Linked DNA regions of Homo sapiens: all the other regions are linked to region 1. Evidence: promoter capture Hi-C in 16 types of primary human blood cells and fetal thymus (Javierre and others, 2016). All regions are on one chromosome and are shown on one strand. The core of a region is centred on a gene start or on the middle of the fragment in contact, and the rest is flanking DNA. Distances in the headings are between cores, read along the strand shown. Region 1 holds the start of RAB4A (RAB4A, member RAS oncogene family). Region 2 has its middle 71 kb from the start of RHOU. Region 3 has its middle 50 kb from the start of RHOU. Region 4 has its middle 33 kb from the start of RHOU. Region 5 has its middle 16 kb from the start of RHOU. Region 6 holds the start of RHOU (ras homolog family member U).

Evidence for each region. The method cuts DNA at HindIII sites, captures the fragments that hold promoters and counts their contacts. A CHiCAGO score of 5 or more calls a contact.
Region 2: a fragment that was not itself captured here is called in contact with the fragment with the promoter of RAB4A in region 1 in 14 of 17 cell types (fetal thymus, naive CD4 T cells, total CD8 T cells and 11 more); the score reaches 20.2 in fetal thymus.
Region 3: a contact is called between a fragment that was not itself captured here and the fragment with the promoter of RAB4A in region 1, in 2 of 17 cell types (naive CD8 T cells and naive CD4 T cells). The highest score is 5.8, in naive CD8 T cells.
Region 4: a contact is called between a fragment that was not itself captured here and the fragment with the promoter of RAB4A in region 1, in 6 of 17 cell types (naive CD4 T cells, total CD4 T cells, total CD8 T cells and 3 more). The highest score is 8.4, in naive CD4 T cells.
Region 5: a contact is called between a fragment that was not itself captured here and the fragment with the promoter of RAB4A in region 1, in 2 of 17 cell types (naive CD4 T cells and neutrophils). The highest score is 7.3, in naive CD4 T cells.
Region 6: a contact is called between the fragment with the promoter of RHOU here and the fragment with the promoter of RAB4A in region 1, in 15 of 17 cell types (total CD4 T cells, naive CD8 T cells, monocytes and 12 more). The highest score is 41.6, in total CD4 T cells.

Annotation. Positions count from the first base shown.
Region 1 is chr1:229,269,694-229,272,572 of GRCh38, forward strand. It overlaps RAB4A (RAB4A, member RAS oncogene family), which reads left to right and starts at 1,418. Exons shown (of 8, transcript NM_004578.4): 1 at 1,418-1,677. The coding sequence starts at 1,647. RAB4A-AS1 (RAB4A antisense RNA 1) reads right to left here and starts at 1,461. Exons shown (of 2, transcript NR_149313.1): 1 at 1,283-1,461. RefSeq lists silencers at 1,230-1,759, 1,800-1,959. The HindIII fragment of the contact is 1,493 bases long and covers 905-2,397 here.
Region 2 is chr1:228,663,293-228,666,171 of GRCh38, forward strand. It overlaps a transcript of RHOU not described here. Among named protein-coding and RNA genes, the nearest start is that of RHOU, 71 kb to the right of the region's middle. The HindIII fragment of the contact is 596 bases long and covers 1,069-1,664 here.
Region 3 is chr1:228,683,923-228,686,801 of GRCh38, forward strand. It overlaps a transcript of RHOU not described here. Among named protein-coding and RNA genes, the nearest start is that of RHOU, 50 kb to the right of the region's middle. The HindIII fragment of the contact is 9,589 bases long and covers 1-2,879 here.
Region 4 is chr1:228,701,232-228,704,110 of GRCh38, forward strand. It overlaps a transcript of RHOU not described here. Among named protein-coding and RNA genes, the nearest start is that of RHOU, 33 kb to the right of the region's middle. The HindIII fragment of the contact is 186 bases long and covers 1,409-1,594 here.
Region 5 is chr1:228,717,575-228,720,453 of GRCh38, forward strand. It overlaps a transcript of RHOU not described here. Among named protein-coding and RNA genes, the nearest start is that of RHOU, 16 kb to the right of the region's middle. The HindIII fragment of the contact is 4,933 bases long and covers 1-2,879 here.
Region 6 is chr1:228,733,988-228,736,866 of GRCh38, forward strand. RHOU (ras homolog family member U) reads left to right here and starts at 1,492. Exons shown (of 3, transcript NM_021205.6): 1 at 1,492-2,017. The coding sequence starts at 1,756. The HindIII fragment of the contact is 4,915 bases long and covers 306-2,879 here.

The sequences.
Region 1 (2,879 bases), core at 168-2,667:
GAAATATATATAAAACAGTTTTAGGAATTACAGCTGTCACAACTTTTCACCATGGGGCCTTCTCTGTGATTTAGAAAAAACTGCATTTATTTGTTATTAGGATCGGAGACAAGAGAAAAATACCGACCCAAATAGCCACTGGGGAAGAGGGAAGCTCTGATGCCAATTTATGTGGAGGATGGAGCCAAACTGACTCACACACACACACACAAAAGTATGTACTGGCATTTTCCACACAGTCCAGGTCACTTGGGAGCTTAGCCAAGGATATTTTGAGCATTCGACTACCTATTGTGAACAAGGTTGGGAACTATGAGGCGCTATGTGGCCCTGATCAAGCTCAGATGGGCCAAATCCTCAACCAAAATTCTCTTTCCCATAAATGTTTATCTCTACATTTCCCACAGAAGGGGATTCTAACTCAGTTTTGCTTCTGAAACCAAACTATCCAAGGCCAGGTGAGATGACTCATGCCTGTAATCCCAGCAATTTGGGAGGCCAAGGAGGGAGGATGCTTGAACTCAGGAGTTCAAGACCAGCCTGGGCAACATAACAAGACCCCATCTCTACAAAAAATTTAAAAATTGGCGCGGTGTGGTCGTGTGAGCCCCTAGCCCCAGCTACTCAGGAGGCTGAGGCAGGAGAATCGGTTGGGCTGGGCTGACAGTGCCAGACCCTGTTAAAAAATAAAAATTAAAAAAACTCCTAAATTTGGAAACACATCCCCAGCTGAGGGCCGGGAGATACTTCTCAACCGTAATCCAGAACCCTCTAAAATGGGATGTGGAGAGGCTGCAGCCTGTAGTCTTGCGATGACCTTTTAGCACCTGGGCATCTTGCGCTTCTGTCATTCCGCCCACACCCGCTCAGCTCCATCCAAGAGGGCCCGGCAGTTTGGAGTGAAAGCTTAGCTTCCCAACGGGTAAATGAACCTGCCTCCCATTCACAGGGCGGCCTCTGGCTGGACACCTGGGGCCTACTGCCTCCTTGTTACACATTAACCAAGTTCTGGCCTCCATCGTAACAGCGTCAGGGAAGTTTTTTCCTGGCTGACAGCCGCAGATGATGACCGAAGACAACGTCTTAACTGAGACGGGCCAATTTGGCAAATGGACTGCTTTCCTCCCCAGTGCGGGCACCTTCCTCCTCTGTCCGGCAACTGGACCCCACTGTCCCCAGCCCTCTGTCACCCCCAAACCTGCCCACCGCCCGCCTCTACCCGACCCTCCCTCAGGGAAATCGGGACTCAGCCCCCAACGCCCCCACCTGCCGCTCTGCCCACCTCAGCGCACACCGCCAGAGCGCCCAGCCCGCGCACGTGCTTCCGGCGCGCGCCGAAGTCCTCACGCGCCCCGCCCCGGCCTCCCCGTGCGCACGCGCGAACGCGGGGTGGGCCGGGCCTCGCGTAGCCCATCTCCTCTTCCTCCTCGCGGTCGCGGCCGGACGGAGGGTGGAGGGCCCTGCGCCTGCGCGGAGCTGGAGTCCGGCTGGGCCGCAGCCGCTGGGAGACCGGCGGTTGCCGTGGGGACCGGTCGGGCCCCTCCCTCCTCCGGTCCCCCGCCCCAGGTCCTTCCCCACCGAGACGCGCCGGCGGACCGCGGGCGAGTGCAGCCGGTGACCCGGCGAGAGGCGGCGCCGCTCCCAAGATGTCGCAGACGGCCATGTCCGAAACCTACGGTACGAGGCCCGGGCTGGCGGGGCGCGCGGGTCGGGCCGCGGGGGGCGTCGGTGGCGCGGGGCCGGGCCTGGGCTGCGGGGGTCTTGAGGGTGGCGGTGGCGCCGGCCGGAGCCGGGGGACGGATCTCGGAGGTGTCTGGGCTTGGGACCGGGATGGGGGACGCGGGCCGCTGGGGGCTCGGGTGGGGTAGCGGGTGCGCGGGGCGCGGGGGCGCTGTGCACAGCGCATTGGCGTGATCCGCCTTTTCAAGTTTCCTCTTGCTCTTTCTCTGCTCTTGCACTCTTAGCGCTTTTCCCCTCTCAGTCTAATGTAAATAACTGAAGGTTTGAAAAGCCAGCTTGATGTTCGGTTTCAGCTGCGATATTATCCCCAGCGAGCCTGTGAAGGGCTTAGGGCGACGCCTGTGTTCCTCAAATACTTCAGTTTGACCTTTCCTGGTTTGGAATTCCTTGCTTTACATTGGGATTACAGTGAGGAGTTATTAATAGGCTAATTCATTCATCTCTTCCTCCGGAGACCTCTTGCTTCGTTTATTTCTCCCTCCCTCTCAGTGTTTTTTAGCCTTTTCTGGGTTGCATTTTGGCTATTTATAAACATGTCTTGTCTCCTTCTTAAGACCGTAAGCACCTTGGAAGCAAAGCCCTGGCTGTTTAATCTTTGTTTCCCCTGCAGCACCCAGACCTGGAGGTGCTTGACAAATACTGTTTTGAATAAGCGAAAGCTTTCCCAGTGCATATGCTGTGTGCTTTTTTTTTTTTCTCCCCTTTTTTGGCCTTGCGTGGTAAGAATAAACAACTTGTACTTTGTATCAGAGTTGAATATTAATAGATGTTTACCAGTCCCTAATCACTCTTTCAGATGTATGTATTCTCAGATTAAGACTTTGATTTGGAGTTTTACAGTCCCAGAGAGAGGCTCAAGTTCAAAATTACATACCTCAAGCCAAATTAGTCCTGTCTCCATCTGTCCTGGCATGCTGCTTCCTTCTCTGCAACAAATACTGTGGAATGGCATTAGGGAAGCGAGCACCGTGCTGGGAGGGCTGTACATCCTGCAGAAACACAGCAGACACGGCTCTGGTCTCATGGAGCGTAGTCTATTGAGGGAATGCAGTATTAATCCAATTGTGATACTAATGAGTGAATAATTAAAAACCAGGCAAGAGTTCTGAAGGAGTGTGGTCCGTGAAAGTGTGTTAGAA
Region 2 (2,879 bases), core at 117-2,616, 610 kb before region 1:
GTGAGGCAACTAGCACACTACAGTGTTTCAAGTGCTATACTTTTTGCCATGCTATGACTTTTCATTTATTTATTTTATCACACTGTAACTGTAACAAGAGAATACAATGTGTGTGCAAATTACCAGACTAGGCACTTATCACAATATTCTCAACTCATAGGAAAGCAATAATAAGGAAAATCGGAAAAGTTAAGCATATTCTTACTATTGAGTTTAAGAAGAAAAAAGAAAAGTTAAAAAAAATTAAGCAGCAATATCTCAACACATAGCTGACATTATTTTTCTTTATTTTTATTTTTCTTTTCTGTTTTTCTTTTCTTTTCTTTTCTTTTCTTTTTTTTTTTTTTTTTTTTTTTTTGAGACGGAATTTCACTCTGTCCCCCAGGCTGGGGTGCAGTGGCATGATCTCAACTCACTGCAACCTCCGCCTCCCGAGATCAAGCGATTCTCCTGCCTCAGCCTCCCACGTAGCTGGGATTACGCGCGCGCGACACCATACCTGGCTAATTTTTGTATTTTTAGTAGAGACGGGGCTTCACCATGTTGGCCAGGCTGGTCCCGAACTCCTGACCTCAAGTGATCCACCCGCCTTGGCCTCTCAAAGTGCTGGGATTACAGGCGCGAGCCGCCACGCCCGGCCAACATAGCTGGATTTCTTTTTCTTCTCCCCTCCCCTCCCCTCCCCTTCCCTCCCCTCCCCTCCCCTCCCCTCCTCTCCCCTCTCCTTTTTTTCTCTTCCCTTCTCTTCTTTTCTTATCTTCTGTCGCCCAGGCTGGAGAGCAGTGGCACTATCACGGCTCACTGCAGTCTTGACCTCTCGGGCTCGCGTGATCTCCCACTTCAGCCTACCGAGTAGCTGGGACTACAGATGTGTGCCACCAGGCTCGGCTAATTTTTTGTAGTTTTTGTAGAGGCGAGGTTTCTCCATATTTCCCAGGCTGGTCTCGAACTCCTGGGCATCGGCCCTCCTCGGCCTCCCAAAGTGTTGGGATTACAGGTGTGAGCCGCTGCGCTCGGCCTGGATTTCTTCATAAAGATAAAATTGGAAATAAAATTGCAGCCCAAGTAAGCTTCCAAGTGGCTCATTTGTTCCTCAAATGAGGAAAGCCATTTGCGGATAGCGAATCAACAAATCATGTTTGTACTCATTTTCTCAGAAACGTATTCTGAGAAAATAATCTTTATGAAGAATGTTAACCTTTTTGCTAGGTGGGGTGGGACTTTGGGAAAAAACCCAACAGTTTATTAAAACAAACAAAGCAAGAAACCAAATTGTCCGGCAGAGGGCAGCATTACCCCACAGAGCCAAAACCTTTGCCAGGAGGAACCCGTGTTCATTGCCAAGATTGATTGATTTTGAGACAGAGGTTTGTCCTTGTTGCCCAGGCTGGAGTGCAATGGCGCAATCTCAGCTCATTGCAACCTCCGTCTCCCAGGTTCAAGCAATTCTTCTGCTTCAGCCTCCCGAGTAGCTGGGTTTACAGGCGCCTGCCACCATGACCGGCTAATTTTTTGTATTTTGGTAGAGATGGGGTTTCACCATGTTGGCCATTTTGGTCTCGAAATCCTGACCTCAGGTGATCCACCGACCTCAGGTGATCCATCCGCCTCGGCCTCCCAAAGTGCTGGGATTACAGGTGTGAGCCACCGTGCCCGGCTTGCCAAGCTTTATTAACTAACATTTGTGGTGCCAGGCTGTTATGGTGATTTCTTCCTATTAGCTTATTTAATCTTCATGAAAACCCTTCAAGATAGGTACTATTTTATTTTCATTTTACAAATAAGAAAACTGAAACTCAGAATGGCTAAGTGACTTTTACCTGGTTCACATATCAATTAAGGTCAAGCCTTTGGCTCCAGGACCTATGTTTTTATTGAAGTAAATGATTATAAAGTGCCTGCTATGCACTAGGCATGGTCTAAGCACTTCACATGCTTTAATTACTTTAATCTTTATGATAACCCCAAGATTTAGGTACTATTATTACCATTTCCATTGTACCGATAAAGAAACCAAGATAAAGAGGTGAAGGTGATCCTACCTTCCCAAGGGAACTCCCACTGTCAGGCTTGAGTCCACAGGAGAGGCTCTAGCTGCTCTACGTGGCAGCACTAGGGTGAAGGCAGTGAGGCTCCTACTGCTCTGGTTCTGGCTGGGTCACACATGTCGGGGATGGGTTGCCAGCTCCCTCAATAAACCCCTACCTAGTCTTCTGAGTGACTCAAATCAGGTATCTTTGGTAGAGTGGAGTGGGGAACAGTAATATATCTTTGAGTGGAGTGGGGACAGTAATATATCTTTGAGTAGAGTGGGATGGGGAACACTAATATGAGTCCCAGAGTCCCAGGATTGAGAACCTGCAGTTCTGATGTCAGAGAGCAGAAGTTGGATGTCCTAGCTCCAGAATAAAGAGCAAATTTGTCCTTCCCCTGTCTTTTTGTTCTGTTGAGACCTTCAAGGAATTGGAAGAATAATGCCTATCCACATTGGTGAGGACAGATCATTTTGACTCAGTCTAGTGGTTCAAATAGTAATACCTTCTACCCTGGGAGAAAGCAGTCCCTCCAGGGTCAGCAAGGCCCCAAGATGTCAAAGCATCAAAAATACAGAATAAAAAGGTCATAATTAACACAAGATGGACAAAAGCCTTCTTCACCCCAGCATCTAGAAGTGTTCTTTTTTTTTTGACAGAACCTTGCTCTCACCAAGGCTGGAGTGCAGTGGTGTGATCTCGGCTCACTGCAACCTCTGCCTCCCGGGTTCAAGTGATCCCCCCACCTGAGCCTCCCAAGTAGCTAGGATTGCAGGCGTGCACCACCATGCCTGGCTAATTTTTTTGTATTTTTAGTAGAAACAGGGTTTCACCATGTTGGCCAGT
Region 3 (2,879 bases), core at 255-2,754, 590 kb before region 1:
AAGACAATTGGAATGATGGGTCAGAAACTATGGACATGGAGAAAACTGAGGATCTGTGGACTTGGAGATCATAGAATCCCAGCGTATGCCTGTGGTTGAAGACTGGTTTTTGTTTGTTTCTTTCTTTCTTTTTGAGACGGAGTCTTGCTCTGTCGCCCAGGCTGGAGTGCAGTGGCATGATCTCGGCTCACTGCAACCTCCAGCTCCCAGGTTCAAGCAATTCTCCTGCCTCAGCCTCCTGATAGCTGGGATTACAGGTGTGTGCCACCATGATGGTCTAATTTTTGTATTTTTAGTAGCGATAGGGTTTCACCCTGATGGCCAGGCTGGTCTTGAACTGCTGACCTCAGGTGATCCTCCCGCCTCAGCCTCCCACTGTGCTGAGATTACCCATGTGAGCCACTGCGCCTGGCCAGTTTGTTTTTTGAGACTAGGTCTCATGTGTCATCCAGGCTGGAGTGCAGTGGCAAGATCTGGCACATTGCAACCTCCACCTCCTGGGCTAAAGTGATCCTTCCACCGCAGCCCCCTGAGTAGCTGGGACTACAGGCGTGCACCACCATGCCCGGCTAATTTTTGTATTTTTTGTAGAAATGGTGTTTTGCCATGTTGGCCAGGCTAGTTTTGAACTCCTGGGCTCAAGTGATCCACGTGTCTCGGCCTAAGTATTGGGATTACAGGCGTGATCTACTGTGCCCTGCTGACATAACTGTTAATATTAGTCCTTTTCACTCTCAGAATCGTTCCTGTTTGGGTGCTAGATTTTGCAGCCACCCCCATAAGGCAGGAAAAAACATGCAGGCTCTGGTAATAGAGTAGTTGTGAGGGTGAGGGAGAAGGAACCACAAGGATGACTTCCAGTTTCTGGCTTGCAGACCAAAAGGGAACGTGGTGCTGTTCCAGGAAACGGTCCCGATAATAGCTCAGACCCTAAGAGAGTGTTCTTGATCTTGTGTAAGAAAGAATTCAGGACGAGTTTGTAAAGTGAAAGCAAGTTTACTAGGAAAGTGGAGGAATAAAAGAACGGCTACTCCATAGACAGAGCAGACCAGCTACTCCGAGAGCTGCTGGTTGCCTATTTCTATGGTTATTTTTTGATGATATTCTAAACAACGGGTGCATTATTTATGTCTCCCATTTTTAGGCTATATAGGGTAACTTCCTGACATTGCCATGACATTTGTAAACTGCCATGGTGCTGGTAGGAGCGTAGCAGTGAGGATGACCAGAGGTCACTCTCATTGCCATCTTGGTATTGGTGGGTTTTGGCTGGCTTCTTTACTGCAGTCTGTTCTGTCAGCAAGGTCTTTATGACCTGTATCTTGTGCTGACTTCTTATCTCATCCTGTGACTTAGAATGCCTTAAGTGTCTGGGAATGCAGCCCAGTAGGCCTCAGCCTTATTTTACCCAGCCTCTATTAAGATGGAGTTGCTCTGGTTCCAATGCCTCTGACAGTAGGAATTTGGGAATGAGTTTTAACAAATACTTGGAAACTGAAACTCAGAGTGAGAGACTAGAAAGAGAGCAAATGCTGTAAAGAGAAATGACCACAAAGGGAAATTAGGAGAAACAAAACTGGAACCAAATGGAGCACCATTCTCTGGATGGTTGATTCTGTGAAAAATTAAAATGGAAATCTATTGAGCATTTGGAGCCAGAGAATGATAGGATACTGCTCTGAGAATTTACTGGGGAATTTGAGAGTTTTAGAAGATAACTAAAGTATTCAGAGACTCATGAAATGACTGTATGTGAATATATATCTTCCTGTTAAAATTATATATAGGTTAAATGTATTTCTGTTAATCAAAATTAATCTTCTCATTGACTTACATTCTAATTGAAAAACCTCTTTGTTCTCCTTTAGTGAAACCCTTAATCAGTAGCATTTGACACTCAGAACTTTTTTGTCTACCGACTCCTTTCTCTTCAAGAGTTAATCTAGTGCAACCCTTAATTATCCCCAGAGCTATTATTAAAAGAATCTGTAAATGGAAGCATTTTTAAAGCCAAGAATCTTAGTAATTTTATTCTGATCAGAGTTTATAAGATCAGAGTTTTACACTTTGACATCTTATTATATGAAGATGAAATAAAACCATTAAGAGGAAACACAATGTAAGTTAGTGATCAGACTTTTGTATTAGTCCATTGACCCCAAAATCTGACTTGCTTATAGGGTTGTGTTATATTTGAGTTTTAGTTATAATTTTGCTACTTATTAGATTTAGAGGAATTAGTTAAATCTCCCTTATCTTCAACTTCTTCATGAATAAAATAAAAATAACTAACTCATGAGGTTTCTATGATATTTAAATGAAACAATAGCTATATAGTGATTAGTACTTTGTAGTTACTCAATGTGTTTTATTAACTAATATTATTATAATAAAGAGTTTCTGTTTGAGGAGATGAAATATTTTGGAAATAGTGGTGATAGTTGTACAACATTATGAATATAATTAATGCCATTGAATTGTATGCTTAAAATTTCTAAAATGGCAATAAAACAATAAAAATATATAAAATACAATAATTACATATTTGCAGTTTAAAACCTATTATGTTTGACAATATATTTCTGAATTTCAGTTTCAGAAATCTAGAGGAATACTCTCCTACACCATGAGACAACTGATATTTAGTGCAAGCCATGGTGAGCACTTGCCCTCTTTTAGTATTGGGTCGGTGCAAAACTCATTGCGGTTTTTGCTATGAAAAGCAATGGCTTTTTAAAGGTCTGGTCTGGCAACAGAGTCAGCTCTTAAAATGTTAAATTCCTAACTTTTAAAGCCTTGATAATCCCAACCAAAAAGCAAGGGAGAATTTTTTTTTGAGAGGGAGTCTTCCTCTGTCTCTCAGGCTGGAGTGCAGTGGC
Region 4 (2,879 bases), core at 252-2,751, 570 kb before region 1:
TATGTCAAAGGTTTAAAACATTTAATCAAAGTATGACCACAGGTCACTGTAAAATAATAGCCATTTGTTAGTGATAATTAAAAGGTTTTAAAAAGCAAAAACTTTTACTCTTTGATTAGAGGAGACCCAGTCTTCCCAAAGATTAAAATATCTAATAAAGACAGCATTAGACAGAATCTATCTCTCCTTTTCTCCTCTTGCTGTCTCATTTTTTTTGAGATGTCTCTAAAAGTGAACAAAAATTTTTTATTATCTCTTATTATTACTTTACAAAAATCTTGTTTAAAAGAGAAAACCAAAGTTTGCTTTTGTATTAATGAATTATCAATATTAAAGCTGATTTTAATAAAACCTTATAAACAAACTAATCTCAGTCAGCTTTTGACCATGCAGATTTCATAAATGTTTTATAATCTCTTACAAAATTTTAAAAATTCTTTTTCTTCCTGACTTTTAATATTATTTAGTTTTATTTATATCTTTTAAAATTCTTTTATCGTAAAATAATATTTAAGTAACTTCTAAACTGGACAAAGTAATTTTTTCTCAACAGCTATGTATTTGTATTCTTTTACAGCTTTTTTTTAATCAAAGCATGTCTTTTTTGTTAGTACACTTTGTATATAGAATTCTCTTATATATGTAGTTTTAATTACATATGTTAACTATAATTTTAACTCTTAGTCACCCTAATTTTCAGTAAAAGTCTAAAAAGTAATTCTGAACTGTTTTATATCAGTATTTATAGATGAAAACCATTTTATAATTTTTACAAAGATATGTTTGCTCAAATTTTTGTTCATTAACAGATCTACATATATTTAGCTTTTTTATATCACAGAAAAATAAGATGCCAAATTATATAAACTTAAATTTATGTTTAATAATTAATGTTTTAGTATTTTAACATACTTGTAAAAAAACTCAGACATTTTATGATTATCTGGTACTTAATTTAAAATAATATGACTTTAAGATTTAAATTACTGAAAAGAATATTAATACTATGATACAAGTACCCTTTCTAATGTTTTTCCCAGTCATCCTGGGTCTCAAGTAGCCACATGACACCTAGGATGGCTATAAGGGGAGGTCCCATCTGGGTCCTAAATTTACATACTAGGTATAGAATTCAGGACAGAAGACAGCTATGAAGATGATGACTGGAGCATTCAGCCCTTCACAGAATGGCCAGGAGGCAAAGCTGGGCCAGGGAGAAAGGGGTCATTTTGAGCTTGACTGTGCCCTGTAGGTGGTGATATAGACACTGAGGACATGTCCCCATATGTTACCAAGGTCACCTGTCTGGACCCCAGAATCCAGAGGCTCGGAAAACAAAAACATAAGCTCACAGTCAAATCAAGCAAATATCAAAAACATAACAGAAGCAGAAGTTTTATGACCTTAAAGCTTGAAGCAGAGATAGCATAAACCTGTCTGACCAGTAGACTCAGGCATAAATATCTATATTATCTTTAAGTGACAATTCTGAAGTCATTTTTTTATTTTATTTTACCAACAATTTAAAAACTAGCTTTCTTCACCAAATAGTATCACATACACATATAGACATATAGACACAAGCAGGTCTTAAAGCTTCCATGAAGAATTCTCATTTGTCAGCTTTCAAATAGTTTTTCTTTTCCCCATTCATACTATCAGTCTTAGAACTATCTGTTTTATTGCTCTAAGTAGTTGTTAGCTACTCCACAATCTGCCTCCTAAAGGGATGACTCTTAGGTGAAACAAGGTAGAAAATTCTCAAAAGCACAGAGCTGAGATTTTAGGCCTAAATATTGTACTATCAGTTGCTCAAACCAAGGGAAAAGATTGTACATAAAGATCCGGTTAAGGCAGCATGGCCTGGAAAAGCACCTTAAACAAAGGCAAGACAATGTATGTACATTTAAAACAACAGTAAGAGTTTCTAGTGACCCAGTCCTCCCTCTCAGACACCCTTTCAAATGGAAATTTCTTTTAGAGATATAAATTTCTCCTATAAAAGTGTTTTGGGGCCAGGCGCGGCGTCTCACATCTGTAATCCCAGCACTTTGGGAGGCCGAGGCGCGCGGATCATGAGGTCAGGAGATCGAGACCATCCTGGCTAACATGGTGAAACCCCGTCTCTACTAAAAATAGAAAAAATTAGCCAGGTGTGGTGGTGGGCACCTGTAGTCCCAGCTACTCGGGAGGCTGAGGCAGGAGAATGGCGTGAACCCGGGAGGTGATGGTTGCAGTGAGCTGAGATCGCGCCACTGCACTCCAGACTGGGCAACAGAGTGAGACTCCATCTCTGAAAAAAAAAAAGTGTTTTAAGATAGCCAGCTAAATGCCAGAAAAGTATATTTTAGAGACTGTTTTAGTTTAATAGGTGGTCTTCTTAACTTAGCTACTTTTTCTTAGCTAAAACTACTGAGTTCAGGATGGAGCTCATTAAGAAACACAGCAATTAAAGCATTCTCTATACCTGGACTTAGCATGGATAGCTTTGAAAAAGAATCAAGGCCATTTAATCTGAGGGCCTACTTTTTATAAACACTGTATCCAGGATAGCTTTCTTTTTGCCTTTGGTTGGGATATGTGTAAGGAAAATAAATCTTAGGACCCCAAATCACTGAGCCAAGGGAAAAGTCAAGCTGGGACCTATGTCAGGCACCCTGCCTCCCATTTCATTCCTAAATAAGATAGCTACAAAGATAAAAAGTGACATACCTCCCTCACAATTTGCCCACAAGGAAATTCTTGGTGGACAACGGAAAGATAGAACTCCAAGTCTCCTTCTGAGGCTCACCTTAGACAAATGCATATCTGATTGCTTCCTCTGCCCTATTGTTTATGTAAAAATGAAGATTCACTGAGCCAGACTATATTTTGTATCC
Region 5 (2,879 bases), core at 209-2,708, 550 kb before region 1:
TCCAACTTACCTCATCATTACAAAACATCAATGCCAAGGTGAAATACTGTTACTGAGTTATGCCGGAGGCATGCTCTCTGACATCTTGATGTAGGAAAAAGTTGAGAGTCAGCTTTAGTGGAATGATCTTACCATAAACAGATATTTTATTGGTGGCCAGTCATTTCAGTTAATGAGAGTGGCGCCCTACTTCCTTCTCAACCTAATCCAGTTATGTGTTTCTGGACACAGGAACTGTTCCATGGACAGCTCCCATGAATCCAGCCAGTCATTTAAAAAGTTAATTCAAGATCAGAAGAACTGGACACAATAAAAAATTCGGGTAATTCCATGCCCTCCATTAACACATTGGACCAGCAGGGTAGTGTCATGTCTGAATATAAAGGATAGGACATATGTATCAATCATTTCATCTGGGCTGACCTCCTTTGAGAACATTATGTCTGTTCTTATTCTACATAGTAAAGATAGATAACTCAGTATTTAAAAATAGGATTCCAAAAGACCATTTCCTTGGGGACACTTAAATTAGAGATCATAATGAGAACCTGGGGAGGTGACAGGAAGTGGTGATACCCTGAGTTCCCCTACGTCCTCCAAAAAAGATGCATCCATTGCTTTCCAGTGAATGGGCTTAGGAGAAAGAACAGCTTTGAAATAGGGAGAATCAAGAAGTTTGCTTGTAGCCATGCTGGGAAGATGGTAGGATGATGCAAATAAGTTTTAAGGACAGATGGAATCTACAATTAAGGTTTGGACAGCTTGGGAAGTATATTAGTTATCTATTGCCACCTAAAAAATTAGCCCAGAATATAATGGCTGAAAACAACAAGTTTATGTGAGTTAGGAATTGGGGAGCAGTTTAATTGGGTGGTTCTGACTCATGAGACTCATGAATTCCAGGAGGCAGGATTATTGGGGCTGTCTTAGATATGCCCTTTGCCAGTCTAGAAGAGTGTAGAAAAAGCTGAGCTTCAGTAAGCATCAAAACTGCCTTTATCAACAGGATAAAGAAATGGGTTGAAACAAGTATTAGACAAGTAGAGGCCCAGAGTCTTAGGGAACTTTCTGAAAGGAGGGAAGCATATGCAGAATAAGTACAAGGTGGTTTAAAGCTCAGATGCAGACTATGTGAGAGAACTTAGAAAACTGTCTTTCTCATCCAGAAGCCTAGAGTCTAAGGTGTGAACCAGGAGGACCAGGTTGGTTGTAGACTGCTATAAACACTTCCGCCAGAACATGAACTGGGAATGTCCACTGCGGGTGACCCTGGATGCTCACTGCAGGAGGGAGTGCATCTCTTACTAGGCAGGGAAGCAGGTTTTGAGAGGGAGTGAACTAAATCTGGTGTCAGCACCAACTCAAATCAGCCAGTTGAGAGATCAAAAGGAAGTATGGCTTTAAAACAGAATATATCGTCTAAAAGGTTTGAAATTTAATTTTAGAAAGCCCTTTAATGGCATCTATTCTACAGCACCTATGTTGGAGGGGGTATATGAGAGTAGAAGGAGGAGGAGTGGAGTATCCTGATGGCTTCACCAGCCATGTCAATATTTGGTTACAGTTCAGATCAAGTGAGACTTAGAAAAACATCCTTCTATATTCCTGTATCATTTTGCTTTCCTATCTATCCATTGGTTGATCAATCCATGTATTCATCAATCCATGCATTCATCCAATGTTTATTGATCATTTACTTTGTGCCTTGATTCTCTAAAGAAACAATAAAAACTGTTGGATTTTCAATTTATAAAATCGTGTGTTTTCCAAAAGTCATTAGCACACTATTCTGTTTCTGGAGTATATTATCACACTAATCAAGGAAAAGGGAACTAATATTTACTGAGGCTCAAAATCACACAATTAATAATTGGGCTGGGTGTGGTGGCTCACGCCTGTAGTCCCCGCACTTTGGAAAGCTGAGGTTGGTGAATCACTTGAGGTCTGGAGTTCGAGACCAGCCTGGCCAACATGGTGAAACCCCACCTCTACTAAAAATATAAAAATTAGCCGGGCATGGTGGTGCACACTTGTAATCCCAGCTACTTGGGAGGCTAAGGAGGGAGGATCACTTGAACCCTGGGGGTGGAGTTTGCAGTGAGCTGGGATCACACCACTGCACTCCAGCCCGGGCGACAGAACATGACTCTGTCTTAAAACAAAACAAAAAACATACAAGCAAACAACAACAACAAAAAAAATGATAAAACTGCAACTGAATTCAGGTTGGCCAGTCCTTTTGATTTACCTTTAAATAATTTATCTTTTCTTAATTCAGTAGCTTTCTCTCCTGACCTGCACTGGTTATTACTTCTTTTGAGAATACTATCATTGCTCCCAAGCAGACCTAAAATAATCCAAGAAAATTACATTAAAATATCGCCGTATCTTTTAAAAAAGTTAGACATAAGCACCCTTTTATGAACATTTATATTTGGTCTCACAGTATAATCATAAGAATTCCTATTAGAAGCCAGGCAAGGTGGCTCATGTCCATAATCCGAGCAACTTTGGAGGCTAAAGCAGGAGGATCACTTGAGGCCAGGAGTTTGATACCAGCCTGGGCAACATAGCGAGACCCCGTCTCTACAGAAAATTAAAAGAAAAAAAAGGACTCCTATTAGATTATGGGCACTTCAGCACAGTTTTTTGTGTGTGTACAAACAACAAACATTTTAAAACAACAGAAAATTGATTATCATGTAATTTTCCATACATAATACATACTATCATAGCATAAGCATAGAAGAAGTACAAGTAAGATTATCTACATGGTTATGAGCTGAAATTTGAATTCATATATCCAAAATATATAAATTTTGTCTCCCCAAAATTCATATGTTGAAGTCCTAACCCCCAATACCTCAGAATGTGACTTT
Region 6 (2,879 bases), core at 242-2,741, 540 kb before region 1:
ATTTTGCATCCTTGACATCCCCCTTATCTCACCTTCATCCTGATTCTGTATCCCATTACACCCAAACAACCTGTTTGGGTCTCCCCAACTTCACTTTCTTTGGCTGATCCCCAAAATCTTCATGGCCTCTTCAAAGTCACTCAATATGAGGGTAAGTTACAGTTTAAAAAGACAGTGAACATAACTGGTGGTGATTAAAATACTTTTTTTTTTTTCAAAATTTACAGAAACATATTACCACGTGTACACATTGCTAGGTCTTCCAATGTGAAAGTGTCCTTTGCAAGTCAGGGGTCCTGGATTCAAGCTTCTAACTTCTTGATAAATCCATCTCTGCATTCTGACCATGGCCATACGTTCAAGATTACGTTTATCATACTGACTTATTTTTGCCTCCAGGATTTTGGTTAGAAGCTCAGGCTCTGGGGCTAGACTATTTGGGTTTGGATCCTGGCATTGCCACTTACTAGCTTGTGGAATCCCAAAACGTTACTTAATATCTCTGTGCCTCAGGTGTTCTCATCTGTAAGTAATGTTAAGATTAAAAGAATTAGTTCTTGAAGAGTGCTTACAACAGTATCTGACACATTATGAAAGTTCAGTATTTGTTATTGTTATTTTTACTACCACTAGTATCAATGTGTATTAATAATATGTGGCCCTTCTCACACCACGCTGTACACCCCCAGGACTCTTGGTATTCTGACTTGGCTAAGAGGCGTCCTTTTTCTGAATAGACTGTTGACCACATGTAGAAGGAAGGCAGAGAGAGAAATGAATCAAAGGGAAACGGAATATTTTTTCAGACATATTAATGTCTCCGAATTACCTTTAAGTAAATGAAGGAATTGGGGGTATAAAAAAATTTCTGGAGCATACATGTATAAAGGTTCACGGCATGCCGAAAGACAAAGTCAAAGGAGCATTCACAATGGAGCTGGCATCCTTTTGCTTCAAAATGAGAAAAAATCACACGATCAGCTGCAGTTAGACTTAAGGAAAAAAGCTGTCTGTTAATTCAATCTCATTCGCAGGACAGGCCTCCAGGACACTTCATTTTTCCCCCTGGGTGGAGCCGTGGCCAGCCGGGGGCTCCACGGAGTGAATAGGAGGCGGCTCAGGCTTCCTGGCTCGCGTGGGCGCCAGAAAGCGGAACCTCCCGGGCCAGTCGCGCGGTGGTCACCCTCTTGGGAGCTGGGGAGGAGGCTGCGGAGGCTGGCCCGGCTCCTTCGGGCGTCGCTTCCCGGACCGGGTGCGCGGGGTCCCCCGGAACGTGTGTTCCAGGTCCTCCCGCGCCAGTGTTCGCAGTCCCCGCCTGGTCGCGGCGGCGCCTCGGGCGCGGGTGCAGGCGCGCGGCGCGCAGGCGGGGGGCGCTGTGGTCTTGGCGCGGGGACCGAGCCGCTCGGCCAGACCCGCCTCTTTTCCCTCCCCGCCAGCCCGCCCGCCTGCCCGCCCCCCACGCGTCGTGTCGCCGGGAAGCCGGGCGGAGACAGAGCGCTTGGGATCCACGGCGCTCGGACCGCTGTCCTCCAACAGCGCAGGGCAGAGCGGCTGGCGCCGCCGGAGCGCGGAGCCACGACCCTCCCTGGCCGCCTTTGTCTACTGGCCGTGCGGCCCGGAACCGCCACTCTCCAGGGCCGGGGACGCGCCCGCAGCTGTCGGTGACAGCTCCTCCCTACCGCAACCCTCCGGGGCGGAGGGGCGGTCGGGCCGGGCCCTGCTAGCCCGCGACCGCAAGCCCGCGCTCGCGGATCGATGCCCCCGCAGCAGGGGGACCCCGCGTTCCCCGACCGCTGCGAGGCGCCTCCGGTGCCGCCGCGTCGGGAGCGCGGTGGACGCGGGGGACGCGGGCCTGGGGAGCCGGGGGGCCGGGGGCGTGCGGGGGGTGCCGAGGGGCGCGGCGTCAAGTGCGTGCTGGTCGGCGACGGCGCGGTGGGCAAGACGAGCCTGGTGGTGAGCTACACCACCAACGGCTACCCCACCGAGTACATCCCTACTGCCTTCGACAACTTCTCCGGTGAGCTGGCCGGGGGGCCGGGGCCGGGGGCGCGTGGCCGCGGTCCACCCAGGGGAAGGAAGGTGGCGCGAGGGTCGCGAGGTTCCCAAGGGGGCTGCAGGGCCCCGGGCGCGGCTCCAGCTGGGAAGCCGGACAAATGAGGAGTGCAGGACGTTTCCTGAGTCTCAGGGACCGGGCAAGCGCGGAGCTAACACGAAAGGACCACGGCGGAGTGGGCTTGGAGAGAGGAGGGCGGAGCGGCAGTCAGAGCCTTGCCAAAAAAAAAAAAAAAAAAAATCTCACAATTTAAGCAACAGATAAGTAGGAGTGAAACAGGTTGAGTTCAGGGTGCCCGGTCAGTTTGTTGCATAGAGCAAAGTTTCCTGAGGGCGACGTCGCTGGCGCCGCTGCAGAGTTTCAATCAGAAGGTGACGCGCAGGTGCCTTTACCTGAGCGTCGCTCCTTTGCTTTTAGGCGGCTCAGCTCACAAGGGGCGTCTCCGCTTTAAAGAGCCGCGGAGACGCCGGGAAAACACTTGATTTAGTGAAAAAGCGCGAGCGGCCCTCGTGAAGGCTTAGGTTTGGATGAAACCTGAAGAGTAAACACCATTTCTTTCTTCTGAGCCCCACCACCTTCCCTGCCCACATGGGCTCGGATTCTGATTGTTGGTATCTTTTCAGGATCCCTTTAAGCTACTTAAAGCTCCTATGTACCGGGTGCGATGCCATTTCCCTTGGTAGATACAAAGAGAAAGGAATTCTCTATCTTGCTATTCAGGTCTTTTTGAAATTTAAGAAAAAGTTAAAATTCACAGAAACTAGTATGAAACACTTAACTGTCTTGCTTCTTTAAAAAAAAATTGCTTCTCTGACCTTCCTTTCAT